2 separate regions of the Homo sapiens genome follow, and region 1 is linked to region 2. Evidence: promoter capture Hi-C in human tissues and cell types (Jung and others, 2019). All regions are on one chromosome and are shown on one strand. Each heading gives the region's core, a stretch centred on a gene start or on the middle of the fragment in contact. The rest is flanking DNA. Distances are from core to core; before and after follow the strand shown.

Region 1 (5,672 bases), core at 254-2,753, 320 kb before region 2:
ACAGTTACCAGAGGTAGAGTGTTAAATACTCACTGGTATTCACACTGTCTTCCTGAGAAGTTTGAGTTAATTGCCCTGGGGTAGGACACAGGCATCAGTATTTTCAAAAACTCTGTCTTAGGTCGCTTTAATGTGTAGCTAACCAGCAAAAGGTACTTGCCTGCTTTTGTCACTAGCTCTGACAACTCCAAGATTATCCCTGCCTGCTTTTATGACCACAACCCTTGCTGTTTCATGGATTGGCCTTGCTCTGGAGAGTCAGCTGCTGTCAACAAGTTTTCTTTTCCACCACCTCTCCCATCCGTCTTACCCAACCTCAGTACTTCCCTGGGCTGAAGCCAAGCTCTCCCAGGCAGCCTGGCTGGGAGCTTTGCAGTCAGGGGCCCCACACTTACGTCTTGTAGCAGTGAGCTGCTGATACCACCCACTGTTCGCTGATGAGGGAGCCACCGCAGAAGTGGGAGCCAGAATTCAGGGACACCTGGTAGGGGAGAGAATTCTCCTCACAGGTGTAGCCCCCAACAATCTTGTCATCATCGTCAAAGGGGACAGCAACTGGAGTGGAAATAGGAAGGGAGAAGGCAAGTCAGTAGCATGTTAGGGGTGGTGCTCCCAGCCTGCGGTTGCTTCCTGCCAATTAGAAATCCTTAACAAGCCCAGTGAGGCCAGGCAAGGGAGGGAGCGCTGCCACCCCTGGTGAGCATCACTGGATGTGGCTCCCAAGTCTCTGTGTCTGCAGGGCACGTAGCTAGGTACCCTGCAGGGGCTCAGATCTCTCCTGGGGACACCAGGCTGAGGATGCAAGGAATGTCCTCAAAATGCTTCCAGTGGGGTAGCAGTTGGTATGTTGTTGTCTCACCCACTGAGTGCTTCTCTCTTTTATTCATCACCTGTGTACTTGCCCTGGCTATTTGAGCCCTGGATTGTCAGGATACTTTGGCTAAGCTAGGAAAACCCCCTGTCTGGGTAGACCTGGCCATGACTAGCTTCCCCCATAGCTCAGATCTGTGCAGTGAGGGCAGAGTTGAGGGCAGCCCCAGGCTCACTTTGGCATAACAAAGGTAGACTTTGTTATTGGCCAATAGAAGAGCAATTCTTAACTTTGGCGGCATGCCTGGAAACGTTAAAAATCACCTGGGAAGCTTAAAAGCCCAGTACACAGGCTGCACCCCAGACAAATGAAGTTAGAACTTCTAGAGTTGAATCTCTGGCATGAGTAATTTTTGAACCTCCCCAGGTGCATTCGAGGTTAAGAGCAGCTATAGTGGTGCTATACTGGTGCTCTTGGAGCCAAGCCTGAAGCCTGCCACTTCATTTCATGGGCCAGCCCCACCTGGTCTCCCTTCCCAGCTTCTCCAACCACAGCTCGGATATGGATGAATGACAGTGGTGGGAGTGAAATGAGGGAAAAGGTGAAACAGGTGAGGCTTAAAGAGAGCCCAAGGAGGATGGGAAGGAGATATGTCAGATGGAGGAAATAGAATATCAGAGCGCAGTCAAAAGAGGAGAGGTGGCAAGAATGGCAGGGCATGTGTCTGCCAGGAAAGGGGGTGGGTGGGGCCTGAGGCAGGTCATGAAACTCGCCAGCAGCTCCCACAAAGGCAAGGATCAGGAATGGATTCATGGTGGTAGAGTGTGCCTGACTGGTGGTGGAAGGCCTGTCCTTATACCCTTCCAAGAATCAGGAGAGGAGGTGTCTGTGAGGTGAGGGTCACAGTTCTTCCCAGCACAAACACACCTGCAGCTTTCCCCTTGCCAGGGTCTTGCATCAGCTCGGCTACGTTTGGCCACTCTGTGGGTTTGTGATTCACAGGTGATAAGGAAACTTGCCTTCTGAGAGCAGAGAGGGAGACTGGCTATTTCCTGGAAGGATGCTGGGATGGGGAAGACAGGGGAAACCAATCCCCGGATCACACAGCTGGGCTTTCGTAGGCCGAGGAGATGAGGGTTAGAAGGAGGGAGAATGGCCTGGGTGTCTAGGAGTCCTTTTAACTATTGGGGATGTATTTAATAATGTACTTAAGGAAGGGCAAGCATTGGTAACAAGCTTGGCTTTTCAGTTTCCTGGAGCCCCCACGAGAGGAGGAAAGTCTTATCTAAGGCTCATTTTTGTGAATATGAATATGCTTCTTTGCAGTCACTGTGCACAAAGGTCAAATCCAAGACTTTGGGTATCCAGAATTCCAACACTAAGGGGTAAGGAGAAGGGAGACTTAGCATTCCATAGGATTCTGGGCTTCCAGATGGCTCTCCTTCCTACCAAGGCTTAAAAGGATGGGAAGTGTTTCAAAGAAGGAGGGGACACAGGTTAGGTAGGAGCTTACTCAGTGCATCTGGAGGATGGAAAACCAATGGCGCACTCCTCCCCTTCTTCAATGTGAAGCCACTTGTCTCTCTCATGTGCATCCTGTCATAGGTTCTTTTTATGCAGCCTCACGGTTGTCCTGGCAACCTGCACTTAGGGTGATGCAAACTGACTCACCTGCTCAGGGCTGACAGCCTGAACCAGAATGACATGCCCCTGATCAGATGTCAGAGTTTGGACCATGGTAAATCTGGGTTACCATCTGATCTGAGAATCAGCAGTAGGTAGAGATTTTAGCACATGGTAAATGGGTCACATATTGGGATCAATAAGAAGATGTGGAGGGGTGGGTCTAGAATTTTCTATTTTAGATGCAGTGAGATTATGCTGGGCTTAGTATCAAGTGAATCTTCCCAGAGAATATCCTGATTTGGGCCCTACCAAGGCTACTAAGACACAGTTGTGTAATTGACTGAGGCACAACCTGGCCAGAGTAGTGTGGAGATGGAGATGCTGTCTGTGATCAAGTCTAATGATGTAAGGAAAGGAGGAGCTTCCTTATGAGGGTGCTTTCCCTTCTCAGCAACTCTGAGCTCAGGTTGGTGATGGGCAGGAGTGAGCAGAGTTCAAGTTTAAATTCTTTGAAAAGTAAAAGAAGCAGAGATGTTCTGGAGATGGTGAACAAAATGAGAAAAGCTCAGAAACTTCGTGTTGAGATCGGACATGGCCAGGGGGCTAGAGGGAGGAAGCAAATGGAAACCAGAGGGAATTGGAAAAAATGCGAATGTGGGGCCCGTGGAGTTGAGAGGACACACAGAGTACCTTCAGGTTCAGCTCCTGGCATGGCCAACGAGCCAGCTTCCCCAAAGCCAGGAGATCCACTGCTCAGAGACCCGCTCTCCACCCCACATCCCCTCTAATCACTGATGGGCTCATACCTAACACTGCTGTACTTAGATGGTGCATGGTGCCTGACAGCTTTACAAGAGTTTTCACATAAGCAACAGTGGTACATTGCTTTTCAGTTATGCTGAGTTTCACAGTTTGACTTCCCACAAACATGCTAATTGTGATTTGTGCAGAGCAAAATTATTTCCATTTATAGAGGAAGAGACTGAGATTCAGAAGGATTCTGTCTTGCCCAAGAATACAGATCTTGGCAGAGCTCACCATAAGGCCAACGGAAGCCATGGAGATCATTGTGAACTGTGGGAATTGCTGCAGGTGACATCTAAAAGGAGATTTATTGAGGATCAAGGCAGAGGTCCCCAGAGGACAAACTGTGCATCTGATTCCTTCCTCCTGCTTTTCTTCCTGGCAGAAATAGATGATTGAATTCATCTTTCTCCTGGCACCTTGTCTCAGAGACTTCCCTTGCCACAGTTCCAGACCCATCCAGGCCATGACTGCCATGTAGATGACACACCTCTCTGCTCACAAATGACTGGCCAAGCCTGAGGTATCCAGGTTTTGGAGCATTGATAATATGGGTTTTTCCTGTGTTGCCCCTAAACATGTTGTTTCATTTTGTCCCCTTGTCATGGGGTCTTCACACAACTCCTGCCTTAGAGGATAAGGAAAGGCTCTTGCTGTAGCAACTGTAGACACCAGTGTGCACTAAATAGGGAGGTGAACCTTGGCAGAAGATGGAAACTTTTTTTGGAGAACGGGATTTTTGGATCAGTGCTTGTGGCTCTGACTCTGTCTGAAAGGAACACCCAAGAATATGAGGATTTTCTGTATCTAGAGCTTGAAGATTAGCCTTCTCCAGTATTTTGCGCTCTTCCTTAAATGATCACAGTATAGTCTGAGGTCAGCTTTCTTCAAAAAGGAATGACCTTACAGGCAGAGAAGATAGCTATAGGTGGAGACTGTTACCTCATACTGTAGACTCAGATGTGTAGGATAGGTTCAGATCCAGCTGCCCAAGCTCAATTTGGAGGACATGCCATTCTTGGTACTCTTCATCCTGAACTAGAGATTTCTTTGTCTTCTTCTCTAAGACATCTTTCTGGCTTGTACTGAGTGCTTAGCACATCAAACCACTGTCCTTCAATTTTGATAACAGTGAATCAATTCTGTGTGCTTACTATATACCATGTTACTATACAGCATGTAACTCATATAAGTTAAGAATTTTTTCTTCATTTTACATTACAACCACTTATGCGATTGCCCATTTTCCAGGTGATTAAATGAGCTTTCTGGAGGTAAAGTGACTTGCTCAAGGCCACACAGCCAGTAGGTTTTAAAGATGGGATGTAAGTATGGTGGTCTGACTCTAGGGCCTCCATGCTCTGCCATAGGGCATTCTGCTTTGCCTCCTCTGAGCTGATCCTTGGTGCACCCTCACTGAGGTGGTAGGCAGCAGATATTGTTCTCTCCTTTTTACAAATCAACAATCTAAAACTCAGAGTTCAAATGACTTCTCCAGCAAAGATCATACTAGAACCTTCCCTATTCAGACAAAGTTTGTTCCTCTTCACGTTGCTACATGAGTCTTTCAGACCTCATAGTAGTCTGAAAAGTGTCAGATTCCAAATTCTTTTTTTTTTAACACTTTCTTCTCCAAATCCCACCAGATCTTTCTCCTAAGCTCTTAGTCAACTCCTCCTTGGGTTCCAGCATCCTTTATCATTCTGCAAACAGATTGTCAGATTTTAGGCTGTCTTCCCGCCAAACTCCCAGCTCCTCTCCTCATCCATTATTTTTCTTTTTTTCTAAGCTTCTTATCTCCCCCACGGCACAATTTCGCTTTATCCAATAAGGAATTGTTTTTGTTACTATCTCATCCCAGGAATCACTGAATCTGGAGAGTGAAGGGAGTGCTCTGTATGATCCAGAAAAGTCTGACTTGTAATATGGAGTCGCAGAGCATGAACTGGTCAAGGCTGATCAGCTAAATGGAGTAGCCCATTCCTCCCTGCCTGCCTCCTGCCCCTCCTCTTGCCTGCCCCTTGCCCCTCCTTCTGCCTGCCCAGCTGCTCCCCACCTTGAAGCCATGGAAGACATGCAAGTTTTATGCCCGGAGGGAAGTTTATAGTTCTGTTTATTCTTCAGGCTTCCATGTATGGGTAAATGGGGAAGCCTCTAGCACTTGAGACTAAACCTAAATTATTTTAAGGATAGATTGATTGCTGTAATATAATGGTGAGTCTTTCTGTTCACATTTCAGCCACTCCTTGACCACTCTCTTGTTTGGCCTATTAGAGCTGCTTAAGTGAGTCCAGGCTCCCTTAGACAGGAAGCAGAAGAAAGCCAGGACAGAGTGCAGGAGAAACACCCATATAGATTCTTATGATTGTAACATCTAGGATCTGTTTCATGATACTCAGAGTTTAATATATGGTGTATGTATTTATTTTTC
Region 2 (6,407 bases), core at 3,681-6,180:
TTTTTTATAGAGATGGAGTTTCACTATGTTGTCCAGGCTGGTTTTGAACTCCTGGACTCCCACCTCGGCCTTCCAAAGTTCTGAGATTACAATGCGTCAATTCTTGACCATTCTTGACCACGGGGCTTGATCATTAAGTATGGAATGAATAGTCAATTCATTTCACAGCTTTTTGGTCTTTCTTAGACTTCAATGATGCTGCTTCTTCCCCTCTGTCAATTCAAATTCAAACCATGCTTCAACACTTAGCACAAGCTCCATTTCTCCAGTAAATCTTATCAATCAAAACATTCTGAGCAAAGAGAGCAGCAAGGTCAAAGGCCCAGGAAATAAATCAAATTAGAGTAAGAAAACTCCCAAATAGTTCAATGCAACTGGGGCATAAAATTTGAGGGAGACAATGGTTAAAGGAAAGACGGAAAGGATTGACTATGGTCACAATCATTCAGTAAACATTTATTAAGTACCTACAATGTGCTAGGTATTGGGCATGTACACATGGTCCTCATTTTCACGTATTCACAGTCAAGGGCAAAAAGAGACAACTGGGCTGGGCAAGTGGCTCATGCTTATAATCCCAGTGCTTTGGGAGGCTGATGAGGGAGGATTGTTTGAGATTCTGAGGTCAAGACCACTACCAAATATTTAAAAATTAGCTGGGCATGGTGGCATATACCTGTAGTCCTAGCTACTTGGGAGGATCACTTGAGCCCAGGTATCCCAAGCTGCAGTGAGCTACAACTGCACTGCAGCCTGGGTGACAGTGAGATCCTGTCTCTAAAAAAATAGTAATAAATTTATAAATAAAAGTAAAACAAAAGGAGAGACAATTGATAACCAGAAATTGTAAAAAGCACTAAAAGGAAAATGGATGATATAAGAGAAACGTTTTAGAAAACATATTGGCCAGGCCGGGCGTGGTCGGTCACGCCTGTTATCCTAGCACTTGGGGAGGTTAAGGTGGGCTGATTGCCTGAGTTCGGAGTCCAAGACCAGCCTGGGGAACATGGTGAAACCCTGTCTCTACTAAAATACAAAAAATTAGCCAGGCGAGGTGGTGTGCACCTGTAGTCCCAGCTACTCGGGAGGCTGAGGCATGAGAATTGCTTGAACCCCGGAGGTGGAAGAGGTTGCAGTAAGCTGAGATCTTGCCACTGCACTCCAGCCTGGGCGACAGGGCAACACTCTGTCTCAGAAAAAAAAAAAAAAAAAAAAAAGAAAAAAGAAAATAAAGGAAGGAGGGTGGGAGGGAGGGAGGGAGAAAGAAAGAGAAAACATAACAGCCTGGGCGTGGTGGCTCACGCCTGTAATCCCAGTACTCTGGGAGGCAGAGGAGGGCAGATCACTTGAGGACAGGGGTTCAAGACCAGTCTGGCCAACATGGTGGCCTACTCTACTAAAAATGCAAAAATTAGCCAGGTGTGGTGGTATGTGGCTGTCATCCCAGCTACTCCAGAGGCTGAGGCAGGAGAATCACTTAAACTTGGGAGGTGGAAGTTGCAGTAAGCTGAGATCTTGCCACTGCACTGCAGCCTGCGTGACAGAGAAAGACTCCATCTCAAAAAAAAAAAAAAAAAAAGAAAGAAAACATATCTATATTTGTTTAGAGAACATATTTTAGGACTTTAGTTAAGACCTTGGCCGGGCACAGTGGCTCAAGCCTGTAATCCTAGCACTTCGGGAGGCCAAGGTGGGAGGATCACTTGAGTCCAGGAATTTGAGACCAGCCTGGGCAACATGGTGAAATCCTGTCTCTACAAAAAATTAGTCGAGTGTGTGGTGCACGCCTGTGGTCCCAGCTAGCCAGGAAGCTGGGGTGGGAGGATGGTTTGAGTCCAGAGGTGATATTTATGCTGAGAGGTGAAAGATGAAAAGGAGAAAAAGCCAAGAAAGCAAAATTCCAAATGGAACAAACAGCTTGGGTGAAGTCCCGGAGTTAGGAAAGAACTTAATACAACGAAGGAACTGAAAGAAAGCTGATGTTGCTGTAGCTCAGGGAACCAGGGGTGGAGTAGCAAGAAAAATGATGAGGGCCAGGCAGTGGCCGATGCCTGTAATCCCAGCATTTTCGAAGGCCGAGGCCGGCAGATTCCTTGCGCTCAGGAGTTTGAAACCAGCCTGGGCAACATGGCAAAAGTCTACACAGAAATACAGAAATTAGCCAGGCATGGTGGTGCGCGTGTGTAGTCTCAATTACTCAGGAGGCTGAGGTGTGATTCCACCACTGTATTCTAGCCTAGGCAACAGAGCGAGAACTTGCCCCTCTTCTCCCACAAAAAAGATGGAATAGCTGGGCAAGGTGGCTCACCCCTGTAATCCCAGCACTTTTGGAGGCTGAGGTGAGCGGATCACTTGAGGTCAGGAGTTTGAGACCAGCCTAGCCAACATGGTGAAACCTTGTCTTTACTAAAAATACAAAAATTAGCCGGGTGTGGTGGCATGTGCCTGTAGTCCCAGCTACTCTACTAGGGAGGCTGAGGCAAGAGAATCGCTTGAATCTGGGAGGCGGAGGTTGCAGTGATCTAAGATTGCACCTCTGCACTCCAGCCTGGGTGACAGAGCAAGACTCTGTCGCAAAAAAAAAAAAATAAAATAAAATAAAAAGAAGGAATAGCAAGTGAAGGGCCATATTGATCATGACTTTATGGAAGTTGAAGTTTGTGTTTAGTTTTAAGTACAATTGGAAGACACTGATGAGTTTTTAAAAGGAAGTGACATGATAGAATTTCTATTTTAGAAAACTAATTCTGGCAGCTGTGTGGAAAATGAATTGAAAATGGACATACCGCTCTTCTGAAACTTCCTTAAAAAGCTATCGCATAGCCGGGCGCGGTGGCTCACGCCTGTAATCCTAGCACTTTCAGAGGCCAAGGCGGGTGGATCATGAGGTCAGGAGATCAAGACCATCCTGGCTAACACGGTGAAACCCCGTCTCTACTAAAAAATACAAAAAATTAGCCGGGCGTGGTGGCGGGCGCCTGTAGTCCCAGCTACTTGGCAGGCTGAGGCAGGAGAATCACTTGAACCCGGGAGGTGGAGCTTGCAGTGAGCCGAGATCGTGCCACTGCACTCCGGCCTGGGCGACAGAGTGAGACTCTGTCTCAAAAAATAAATAAATAAATAAATAATAAATAATAAAAAAGCTATTGTATAAACTGACCTGCACTGTTTGAAGTCAGAATAGTGATTGTTGGGGGCAGAGTTACTAGAGGGCAGCATGAGGGGAGATTCTGAAGGTGCAGGAAATGTTCTGCTTATTTTCTGGGAGCTGACTATATGAGTATGTTTGGTTTGTTAGTATTCAAGCTTTACACTTGGGATATGTACATTTTTCCTTATGTATATTGTACTTCAATACAAATTTTTAGACTGGGCACGGTGGCTCACCCCTGTAATCCCAGCATTTTGGGAGACTGAGGAGGGCAGATCACTTGAGGCCAGAGTTTGAGATCAGGCTGGCCATCATGGTGAAACTCTGTCTCTACTAAAAATACAAAAATTGGCCTGGTGTGTTGGCGCATGCCTGTAATCCCAGCTACTTGGGAAGCTGAGCCACAATAATCAATTGAACCAGGAGGTGGATGTTGCAGTAAGCTGAGATCGACCCACTGCACTCTAGCCTGGGCAACAGAGGGACACTCACTCTCTCTCAAAAAAAAAAAAAAAAAAAAAAAAAAAAAATATATATATATATATATATATATATATATATATATATATTATATGGTAATAGTTGAATTTAGATGATCCTGCATTAGGAAATAAAATGAAACATATAACGGTTATTACTGGAATAACTGACAAAATTTAAAGATGGAATTTGTATACTAGTATTGAATCACGATTAAATTTCCTTAATTTCATAATCGGGCTGTGCTTACATAAGAGGTAGTCCTTGATCTTAGTAGATACATACCTAAGTATTTAGGGAGATGTGTGATTGGTTTTCAAATGGTTTTGCAAAATAATATGTAAATACATAGGTAAAGATAAACTTGGCAAAATAGTAACACTAAGTGAATCTAGGTGAAGAGTATATGCGCATTCATTATATTATTCTTGCAACATTTGTTTTAAATTTTTAATAGTTTAAAAATAGGCCGGGAGCAGTGGCTCAGGCCTGTAATCCCAGCATTTCGGGAGGCCAAGGTGGGCGGGTCACTGGCAGTCAGGAGTTTGAGACCAGCCTAGGCAACATGAGGAAACCCCATCTCTAGTGAAAATACAAAAATTAGACGGGTGTGATGGTACCTGCCTGTAATCCCAGCTCCTCAGGAGGCTGAGGCACGAGAATCGCTTGAGCCTGGGAGAGGGAGGATGCAGGGAGCTGAGATCGTGCCACTGCACTCCAGCCTGGGCGACAGAGCAAGACTACTCCAAAAATAAATAAATAAATAAATAAATAAATAAATAAATAAATAAATAAAAATAACTAAATTACTTGAAATTGTAATAAGCTAAGTAATAAGTAAAAACTGGAGAAAAGTCATAACAATAATTCGGGAACAAGATGATGTGACGGGCTAAACCTGGCAGTGAAGACACAGAAAAATGAATAAATTCAAGGTATGTTTTGGAGGTAGAACTGACAAGATTTGTTAACTGATAAGGTGTAGCAAATAAAGAAAAAGGGAGGAATAACTGCTGTAAACAAACCTGACCAAAAGGAACAAACTAGCTCCGCCCTTCCCGATTGCAGCCACGCGAAGGAAGTGAGGAAAAGAAAGCAAAGGCCTAGCTACGGGCAGGCTTCCGTTCTAGCGTCGCGAAGAGGCCGTAAAGCACAGAAACCCGTTTGTCCCCTCCCCTAATGGGCGGGCCTTGAGACTGCCCGGCCAATGGCAAGCGAGTAATCGACTGATAATCCAATAGCTCTGGAGTGGGTGGAGTCCTGAGGAATTGGGGTGGGCTGGACTTGGGCCTGGAGTTAGGCATTTCCGCCCACGTGGGAAGCTATGAGGTATAGACCCGGCTAGAATCTGAAGTGCGGGAGAGTGCTGGACCCTGAGTGATGGGGCCGGCGCCAGCTGGAGAGCAGCTTCGCGGAGCGACTGGAGAGCCAGAGGTGGGTTGAGCCATCGGGGAGGAACAGAGGCTCAATGTGCGCTCCCTTGGCTGCAGGGCCCGAGATGGCGTGATCTGACAGCTTGCGGGTGAAAGCCATGCCGGCGGCCCATTCTGGAGGATGTTTCCAGCCAGTGGCACTGAGACAGGGCTTGCTAGGGGTGATGGAACCTGGCAGTATTTGGTTAGAAGCAGTGAAGCCGGTAGAGCCTCTGCTCTCTTCTGGAGCTCTGCACCTCAAAGTTGAAGAGACCCACACTTGGGTCGTTTCTTTTATTTGGTGGTCCTTGACGATAAGCGGGATCTTCCTCCACAGAATTTGTGTCCAGTTCTGTGCTCCCCGCTGTAGCGGAGGGCATACGGTGCCTCTCCTGGAGCGCTCCAGTAAGGCTCTCTGGGATGAGAGGCATCGTGGAGCGGATGGGCCCACGGCTGTAGGGGAAAAGGTTTGGGATCCTGCACGCTTGCCTTTGAAGCCTGCTCATAGTACGGGTGTACCAGTTGTGGAACCTCGAGTGAATAGTGGGACTTCAAGTGTCTTCAAGAATTATTTTGAGGATTTAATGACTTGCTAAATGTGTCCTCTGGGGTCCAGTCGGTTCTAGCTCCTTCCATCAGTGAGTATTTAGTGTAAACTGAGGCAGTCAGGTCTTCCTAGAGGAGGTGGAACCTGGCAGGATTTGGTTGGAGCGAGAATGGGAAAGACATTTGAGAAGTCCCAGGCCTATATCAGCAGAAGAGGAAACTTCCTGAAAATACAAGGGGCCTGGGCATTACTTAGGGCAGGGCTCAGTCAGCTTCTTTTTTTTTTTTTTTTTTTTGACAGTCTTGCTCTGTTGCCCAGGCTAGAATGCAATGGCACGATCTCGGCTCACTTCAGCCTCTGCCTCCTGGGTTCAAGTGATTTTCCTGCCTCAGTCTCCCGCGTAGCTGAGATTACAGGCATGTGCCACCACACCTGGCTAATTTTTGTATTTTTAATAGAGACGGAGTTTCCCCATGTTGGCCAGGCTGATTTCGAACTCCTGACTTCAGCTGATCCGCCCAGCTCCACCTCCCAAACTGCTGGGATTACAGGCGTCAGCCACCGTGTCCAGCCTGGGCCCAGTCAGCTTCTATCACTACCAATTCCAAACAGAGCTCCATGCTTGTGGTGTCAGGTAGACAGGAGAGCTCTTAACTCAAGGAATTTTCGGCTCAGCGCTCAGTGATGTTCATCCAAGTAACGATTCTCCTGAGTTTTACAAAATCTGACTCCTACTCAAAAGAGGGACAGAGCAGGTGAAGCTTTTACCCACAACCTATCATGGTGGCACTTTAGGCAGCAGATGCTAGATACCTAT

Evidence for each region. The method cuts DNA at HindIII sites, captures the fragments that hold promoters and counts their contacts. A contact is called where the count stands out against the background at its distance.
Region 1: a contact is called between a fragment that was not itself captured here and the fragment with the promoter of NOL6 in region 2, in 1 of the 25 tissues and cell types used here (mesendoderm cells).

Annotation. Positions count from the first base shown.
Region 1 is chr9:33,791,526-33,797,197 of GRCh38, reverse strand. PRSS3 (serine protease 3) reads right to left here and starts at 1,637. Exons shown (of 5, transcript NM_002771.4): 1 at 1,585-1,637; 2 at 396-555. The coding sequence starts at 1,624. All of the region lies in intron 3 of UBE2R2-AS1 (UBE2R2 antisense RNA 1), which reads left to right. RefSeq lists an enhancer at 588-1,088. The HindIII fragment of the contact is 4,072 bases long and covers 1-3,539 here.
Region 2 is chr9:33,472,447-33,478,853 of GRCh38, reverse strand. NOL6 (nucleolar protein 6) reads left to right here and starts at 4,930. Exons shown (of 26, transcript NM_022917.5): 1 at 4,930-5,065. The coding sequence starts at 5,012. It overlaps LOC107987061 (a long non-coding RNA gene), which reads right to left and starts at 4,714. Exons shown (of 3, transcript XR_001746648.3): 1 at 4,657-4,714. RefSeq lists an enhancer at 4,979-5,318. The HindIII fragment of the contact is 8,318 bases long and covers 1-6,407 here.